Regions from separate parts of the Homo sapiens genome. Here regions 2 and 3 are each linked to region 1. Evidence: promoter capture Hi-C in human tissues and cell types (Jung and others, 2019). All regions are on one chromosome and are shown on one strand. Each heading gives the region's core, a stretch centred on a gene start or on the middle of the fragment in contact. The rest is flanking DNA. Distances are from core to core; before and after follow the strand shown. Region 1 holds the start of SYT6 (synaptotagmin 6). Region 2 has its middle 78 kb from the start of OLFML3. Region 3 has its middle 95 kb from the start of SYT6.

Region 1 (2,700 bases), core at 201-2,700:
TGGAAGCTGCGAACCTTCAACAATTGCCTCTCCCTCGTCCCCTAAACTTATGCCCACGCGATGGTAGCACCAACTGGGTCTTCAGCACCGTGGACAGAGCCAGGGGGCGCCTCACGGTGGAAAAGCCGCCTGGCTGGGCCAGGGTCCTCACAGGCCTTGCCTTAGCCCTTGGTGCCCCAGGCACCAGCTGCTAGGGGATCGCAAGTCCAAGGGCCGGTTGGCACAGATGGCGCGCAGTGGAGACCGCCAGGAGCTAAGGCTCCGAATCTCCTCCCTCCGGAACGTGAGTCACTGCCCGAGTCACTTCCAATAAGCGTGTTAATTAAGAGGCAAGACCTTTCTCCCTCGCCAGCCACTCGGGCATACACCAACCCAGCAGCCTCCAGGGGCTGCAGCTAAAGCTTCCTTCCCAGCTCCGGGAGAGCAAATGGACCTGAGTCTGGGGCTTCAGGCGAGCCCCACACAGAAGGGGCCCCACCGCCGACAGGTGTAGATCAAGAGACTCCCGAGATAGGCCCCTGCAGGGCGCTGGTCCCCCGGCCTCCCTGACCATGGCTCACAGACTTCCAGCGCTGAGTGAGGCAGCTCGAAGCCTCTCAGCCGATCTGTTCCTGGGCCTCACTCCACAGTTTCTGAGGGGATCTCTACTTTAAGTCTAGCCTCAATCCTCCCGTTGAGCTTTCTGTCTTTCTTGTTATGCTTAGCAGAAAGATACATGATCTCTGGTGCTGTTTCACCGAAGCAAGGAGGTGGGTCGGCGGAACTGAGCGCCCTGCGCCCTCTTGAAATGACCCCCCATTCCTGTTTGCCAGAAACTTTTCCCTCCCGTTGCCATGGAGAGAGACGGCCGCTGCCTCCCGTCGCCATAGCAACATGCGGGTACCGCGGACCGCAGGATTGCGGAGCTCGGAAAGTCTTGCAGTTCGCATCGCCCGCCTGTCTTGGGGTCTTCTACCTCCGAAGCTGGGACTCGGGGGCCAGTCTAACTGCTCCCGTCAGGAACCTCGGCCAAGGTCCTCCCAGACCCTGCCTGACCGTCGCTCTTTCTGTTACGGGGTTATCTATTTCTCTGTCATTCGTGTGGCATGTGGCAGTTTACCCAGTGTTTTCACAAACACGATCTTTCTATCCCCAGGGAGTCCGTGAAGTACTTAAAATCATTACACCTCCTTTACGGAGAGGAAAATTGAGGCTCAGAGACGCCCAAGGTCACACCAGGCAGTGAATGCGGAGTGGGAACCCGGACTCTTTCCTGGCCTTGCACCCTCCGAGATTCGGGACAGCCCGGCTTCCCGCCTCGAAACCCCCACCCCCCGGACTCAGGCCAGTCCCTGAGTGTAGAGGGGGCGGCCGCGAGGCGCCAGACTCGCCAGCTGCCGCGGGATGCCACGTGAGGGGCGGGGACCCTGCGGGGAAGTGATTAAAAGCAGAGCGGAGCCGCAGGGGGCCGCTGCAGGGAGGGTCTTCTTGGGGCCGTCGTGCCCCGCCCCAGTGCGGCCGGGGCGCGGGTTCGAGCTGCTGCTCGGCAAGCCTGGGTGTCTAGGGCATGAGCGGAGTGTGGGGGGCCGGCGGGCCTCGGTGCCAGGAGGCGCTCGCGGTCCTCGCCTCGCTGTGCCGGGCCCGGCCGCCCCCTCTCGGGCTGGACGTGGAGACTTGTCGGAGCTTCGAGCTGCAGCCCCCAGAGCGGAGTCCCAGCGCGGCAGGCGCAGGTAACGGGAGACCCAGGGCCCCCTCCCTTCCTGGATATCCGTCCTGCGATCTCCCTTCCCCAAAGCCCCGGTCCCAGGAGCCCCAGAACCTAGAGAGAACTCCCCAGCTCGGGATTCTGGATTGGGAGCCAGCCTCGTCCAGCCCTCTGGCCCATCGCTTGCACAGCCAGGAGAGACCCGAAGGGGAGCGGAGGTTGGGGTAGAAGCCCCCGGCCCTCCTGTATTACTACTGCGGAATGCGGGGGACCCCGCAGACAGCCAGGCTCCCAGGACGGGGCACCCTTGGGGCTTCAGTTTCCCTCGCATCTCCAAGCTCGCTCTGCGGGCGATTTGCCAGGAGAGGGGTCCATGGAGAGAGCGGGAGACGAGGGGCGCCCGGCTGAGGAATAGGGCTTGCCTCCTAGCGAGTGTCGAGGTCCCCGGGTCCGTGCGTCGGTCTGTCCGTCCGTTTGTGTGTTCTCGCGGTGAACGCGGGCGGACCCCCAGTCTCTCCGGGAGAAACTTGGGTCTGCGGCTGGCACGAGGTCTTTGTGTCCGGGTGTCTCTCCGGCTGCGAGTGGTTTTCCGCGTCTCCGCTGGGGGGCGGGGGACAGGGGGCGGGGTGGGGGAGGGTATGAGGGTGTTGCGGCGTCCTTCCCCCACCCCCTCTCGCCCCTATAACTCGCTCCCTCCGTCCCTCTCGGACTCGGACTCGGGGCCGGTGCGCGACTGAGCTGGCGCCTCTAGCCGACTTTGCCAAGAGGGCGCCTCCTGCCCGATCCGCGCTGACCCTGCGCGGGACGCAGCCCCAGGCGGCTGCCTAGCCGAGGCGGGAGCCCGAGCTGAGTCGAGCTCGCCGGAGCGGGTGAGTCCCGAGCCCGATCCCCGCCGGGCTGGACCCTGGCGCGCAGCTGCGGCGTCTCCGGGGAGTCGCGGCAGGGGGAATGGCGTGTCGCGCCCTGGCGGCGGGAGCTGCGGGAGGGTCGGCGACGTGGCGGCCGGCCCAGGGTAT
Region 2 (2,700 bases), core at 101-2,600, 96 kb after region 1:
ACAGAGACAAAGTATAGAGAAAGAAATAAGGGGGCCCAGGGGACCAGCGTTCAGCATACGGAGGATCCCACCGGCCTCTGAGTTCCGTTAGTATTTATTGATCATTCTTGGGTGTTTCTCGGAGAGGGGGATGTGGCAGGGTCATAGGATAATAGTGGAGAGAAGGTCAGCAGATAAACATGTGAACAAAGGTCTCTGCATCATAAACAAGGTAAAGAATTAAATGCTGTGCTTTAGATATGCATACACATAAACATCTCAATGCCTTAAAGAGCAGTATTGCTGCCCGCCTGTCCCACCTCCAGCCCTAAGGCAGTTTTCCCCTATCTCAGTAGATGGAACATACAATCGGGTTTTATACCGAGACATTCCATTGCCCAGGGACGGGAAGGAGACAGATGTCTTCCTCTTGTCTCAACTGCAAAGAGGCGTTCCTTCCTCTTATACTAATCCTCCTCAGCACAGACCCTTTACGGATGTCAGGCTGGGGGATGGTCAGGTCTTTCCCTTCCCACGAGGCCATATTTCAGACTATCACGTGGGGAGAAACCTTGGACAATACCTGGCTTTCCTAGGCAGAGGTCCCTGCGGCCTTCCTTCTGCAGTGTTTATGTCCCTGGGTACTTGAGATTAGGGAGTGGTGATGACTCTTAAAAGAGCATGCTGCCTTCAAGCATCTGTTTAACAAAGCACATCTTGCACAGCCTTTAATCCATTTAACCCTGAGTGGACGCAGCACATGTTTCAGAGAGCACAGGGTTGGGGGTAAGGTTACAGATTAACAGCATCTCAAGGCAGAAGAATTTCTCTTAATACAGAACAAAATGGAGTCTCCCATGTCTACTTCTTTCTACACAGACACAGTAACAATCTGATCTCTCTTTCTTTTCCCCACAAGCCAGCAAGAGGGAAGATGGGAGAGAAGATAAAATAAGAGAGAAAAAAAACTATCTTCCCTTCCTACAGTCAGGATGCCATCAACTATAGGCCATAATTCAAAGGTGCTAACTCAACTTTTGGATAAAATAAAAGCACTTAATCATTGTTTTCCATCGGACATTCCAGTTTTTAAACTGAGGCTGTCTTTACAACTTAAAGTGACCAAAGGATTGTCTATCACCTAGGAGTGGGCAGAACAATCATGGAATCTACCCACATTTCCAGTATAGGAACAGATCACGACCACTGAGTATACTTCAAATAGACGGTGGATAACAAAATAAGTTATACTTTGAGCCTACAAATCATGCATTTAGCATGTCAGCTTGTTATCTGTCTCCCTTCACTGGCAGGCAAGTCTCACAAGAGTGTGGACTTTGTCATCCTAACATTGTATCCTTAGAACCAAGAAGAAAGTCTGGCATGTATTAGTAATAAATATTATCTAAGATTGATCAATGAGCTCATCTTTAGGTTCTCCAAGTTTCATGTCTCCAAATAACTGTCCTTCTGCTTTGGGGCTCATTTAAGGTGTCTAAGATAGCTGTATTAGATAGGATAAGTTAACTGTCATGACAACAACTCAAAATATCATTGGGTTAACAGAAAACAACTTTATTTCTTGCTCATGAAAAGTCTAATGAGAATATTTCTGGGCAACTCTCCTCCAACCAGTGACTCAGGGATCCAGGCTCCTTCCATCTTGTAATGCTATCATTTTCAACATGCAGTCTCTAAGTCTTGGAAGGGGAAAAGAGTGGAGTAAGGCACAGCTGATAATTCATCTCCTCAGCTTATAAATGGCACACATTATTTCTGCTTACATTCTTTTGCTCAGTGCTAGTCCTATGGGTGCAGCTGAAGACAGTGGATTGAGGAGCATGGTATATAACTAGACAACTGCATCCTAACAATACCTCTACACTGTGAAAGGAGAGCTTGCATCTTTGGTGATCAGCTACCACTGCTGCCACAGTAGCCACCTGGAAGGACTGATTAAAGGCCTGCCTTACTTGTACAAATGAGCCCTCCTCCCACATAAAGGAGCCCAGACCATGAAGCCTTGCTAGATATCTGGGCTTGACTAACCCCAGAACCACCTCTCTGGTGCCAGCTGTTACTTAGTCCAGCTTCCTCTCAGCTCTACTATCTGTTGAAATCCTGCTATTTCATCAGGAATCTTAGAACTGAATATCTACCTGCCACATCAGTAAAGACATCCATACCTAGTTCTGTGGGGGTAAAAAGACCACATCCACCCCCATAGCAGGGTCAGCTGCCAAGCACCAGTTCCATCCAGTGAGGTCCCTCTGCTCTTACCCATGTTGCTGTGAGGAAACACCCAAAACTCTAAGAGCCCTAAATACCTCCTTCTCTTTACAGATGGAGAACTGGCACCTGGAGCTGGTGGATGGTGGAAGTCCAAGGTCACACTGTCAGTGGCAGAGCTAGAATCAGAGCCCACACTTCTGGCCACACTTCACATCACACTACACATCGAAGGCTGCCACCTCCTCAATCCCCCAATCACTTGCTGTTTTACTCAAACTGAGCTTCCATTGTCCTCCTATCCTGAGAGCCTTCCCAGGCCTTCGACTCAGCCTTACCTCCTTCACTTGACCCCCAAGACACGCCTTCCCTGGCAGTCTTCTCCTACCCGCTGGGATGGTACCCAATCCACGCTTTCTCCTTGGGTCTCATTTGGATGTTTTGTTCCATGCTGAGCATCTCCCTGGCCCCACCTTTATGGATGAGGAAAGT
Region 3 (2,700 bases), core at 21-2,520, 95 kb before region 1:
CATGATACATAGGAGAGAAATCTGGTCAGGAAACTCTAGAAAATCTTTTCTCAGCCATCTGTCTTCCCCTGAATGGCAGCCAGAGATGGCTCCCCAAGTCGTGTGCGGCAGCTCAGTTGGAAAGGGGCCGGGGCTGGGGTGCCAGGGCAGGGTGCTAGTGCTCTGTGTTTGGTGAAGGCACCGGCTGGCAGGTTACGCCCCGGAACAGTCAGTCAGCAGTACCAGATTATCCAAGGATGGGAAAATTAGCTTCTGAAGCCTTCCCAGATATCTTATTATTGAAATTGACTTTTCATCCGATGAGATGTAGTTGTGTTGAATCGACAGCCAAGCCCTGACTCCAGGTAGTGGCAGACTCTATGATGCTATTTTTTCAACTTAGTACTAGTTTGAGAGAAAATGTGAACTGGATACCTAGAATAGACTCTTCGCCAAGGGCTGCAGGAGTCTCAGAGAGATTCTATTATGCCCAGTTGCCCTGAGGGTCTCAGAGCAGGAGTTAACTACTCTTCCTTAGAGTCTGTTGAAAGTGGGCTGACCCAGCGAAAAGCCTGAATCAATGAACTGTGCTTTCAAGCAGGTAAAAGGAACGAAAAGAAGAAAGGTGATGCTCTCCAGGAGAGGCAAAATGTTTGTATTATAAATAAATACTTTCTTATAAAGAAGAAAGCTTTGTGGCTTCGTCCTCTCCACTCTCCCCTCCCCGCCATTCAGACTGCAGCATTGCTGACTCTGTGCTCTTCTTGGTATATACCTGCCATTGATTTAGAGCCACAGGGAGAAGGCAGATGTCCTTGATTTATCTAACTGGACTGGTTTTCATTTATGTGCCTCAGGGGCAATTTTGGCTGAACTGCAACCCGGTTATTGGAAGTGTTCTTGTCCCCTTCCTCTGTCTCTATTTATATGCACGACACTTAAGCTTTGTAATTGGGAGAAGAAGAAAGAAGGGGTTTCATGGATCTCTTCTCCACTGTCTGTCCTTGGCCTGGGTTTCATCTCTACAGGGATAAGGATCAGAATTGGATGGAATTATTTTCATGGCAGACTTGGTGAGATTCTGGGCACAAGCTGGGATGCTTTAGGACCCAGGTGACAAAGTGCGGCCTCGGAGTAGGGAAAGGCCATTCTCCTCCCTCCGTACAGAACTCAGGATTGGTGGCCTTTGAAGGCGTTTTCAAGCTGCTTAACGGGTGAGTGGAAGCCAGAGGAAGAGGCACCTCAGGGCAGCCCCCTGTGGTTGGTGCTGCTGGAAGCCTGGCCTGTGCCCAACGTGAAGCTTTCCTGGGGCAGTTCCCAGAATTTACTAGGGGCCCCTTGAGGGGCTCAGTTCTGGTTGGGGAAGGGAGGGCTTGCTCAGAGTCATTGCAATTGGGATATCAACATAATCATGACCTTGTTTTATGTCCCCAAACTGAGAGGCCACGGGACCCAGGATACTTTGTAGGGAGAGTGCTGGCATCTCATCTTCTGGCCACCTCTCTGGCTTCAGTTGAACTAAGTGGCAACTTTGAAGGACCTGCCCTGGAAGAGTAAGAGACATTTCCTTAAGTCACTCAAATGAGAGATTTCTCATCCAAGCACAGCCCTGCTGCTTGTGTGGGAGGTCTCATTGTGTGGGCAGGGGGTCATTGCAGAGAGGCTGGTATTGGGGGTGGAGTTAGTCTGGGGAAGAAGGAAAGAAGGAGGGAAGAAGAAATGGTCTTAGGTGGTTAATTCAGTCTATAGCTGTTGCCACTGATAGAGTTTCATTTTTTTCGTTTTATTAAATTATACTTTTTTTTTTTTTGAGACAGTCTTGCCCCGTCGCCCAGGCTGGAGTGCAGTGGCATGATCTTGGCTCACTGCAAGCTCCTCCTCCCGGGTTCACGCCATTCTCCTGCCTCAGCCTCCTGAGTAGCTGGGACTATAGGCACCCGCCACCACGCCTGGATAATTTTTTTGTATTTTTAATAGAGACGGGGTTTCACCGTGTTAGCCAGGATGGTTTTCCTCTCCTGACCTCGTGATCCACCTGCCTCGGCCTCCCAAAGTGCTGGGATTACAGGCTTGAGCCTGGGATACATGTGCAGAACGTGCAGATATGTTTGCAGAACGTATTACATAGGTATACACGTGCCATGATGGTTTTCTGCACCCATCAACCCATCATCTACATTAAGTATTTCTCCTAATGCTATCCCTCCCCTAGCCCCCCCATCCCCTAACAGGCCCCCGTGTGTGATGTTCCCCTCCCTGTGTCCATGTTCTCATTGTTCAACTCTCACTTATGAGTGAGAACATGCAGTGTTTGGTTTTCTGTTCCTGTGTTAGTTTGCTGAGAATGATGGTTTCCAGCTTCATCCATGTTCCTGCAAGACATGAACTCATCCTCTTTTTATGGCTGCATGGTATTCCATGGTGTATATACGCCACATTTTCTTTATCCAGTCTATCATTAATGGGCATTTGGGTTGGTTCCAAGTCTTTGCTATTGTGAATAGTGCTGCAATAAACATATGTGTGCATGTGTCTTTATAGTAAAATGATTTATAATCCTTTGGGTATAAACCCAGTAATGGGATTGCTGGGTCAAATGGTATTTCTGGTTCTAGATCCTTGAGGAATCGCCACATTGTCTTCCACAATGGTTGAACTAATTTACACTCTCACCAACAGTGTAAAAGCATTCCTATTTCTCCACATCCTCTCCAGCATTTG

The links. Contacts are between HindIII fragments. The study calls those that stand out against the background at their distance.
Region 2: a contact is called between a fragment that was not itself captured here and the fragment with the promoter of SYT6 in region 1, in 2 of the 25 tissues and cell types used here (spleen and thymus).
Region 3: a contact is called between a fragment that was not itself captured here and the fragment with the promoter of SYT6 in region 1, in 3 of the 25 tissues and cell types used here (H1 embryonic stem cells, IMR-90 fibroblasts and psoas muscle).

Annotation. Positions count from the first base shown.
Region 1 is chr1:114,152,619-114,155,318 of GRCh38, reverse strand. SYT6 (synaptotagmin 6) reads left to right here and starts at 1,450. Exons shown (of 8, transcript NM_001253772.2): 1 at 1,450-1,709. The coding sequence starts at 1,547. RefSeq lists an enhancer at 1-275. The HindIII fragment of the contact is 10,069 bases long and covers 1-2,700 here.
Region 2 is chr1:114,056,344-114,059,043 of GRCh38, reverse strand. No RefSeq gene overlaps it. Among named protein-coding and RNA genes, the nearest start is that of OLFML3, 78 kb to the right of the region's middle. RefSeq lists an enhancer at 36-890. The HindIII fragment of the contact is 6,102 bases long and covers 1-2,700 here.
Region 3 is chr1:114,247,294-114,249,993 of GRCh38, reverse strand. No RefSeq gene overlaps it. Among named protein-coding and RNA genes, the nearest start is that of SYT6, 95 kb to the right of the region's middle. The HindIII fragment of the contact is 3,137 bases long and covers 1-2,700 here.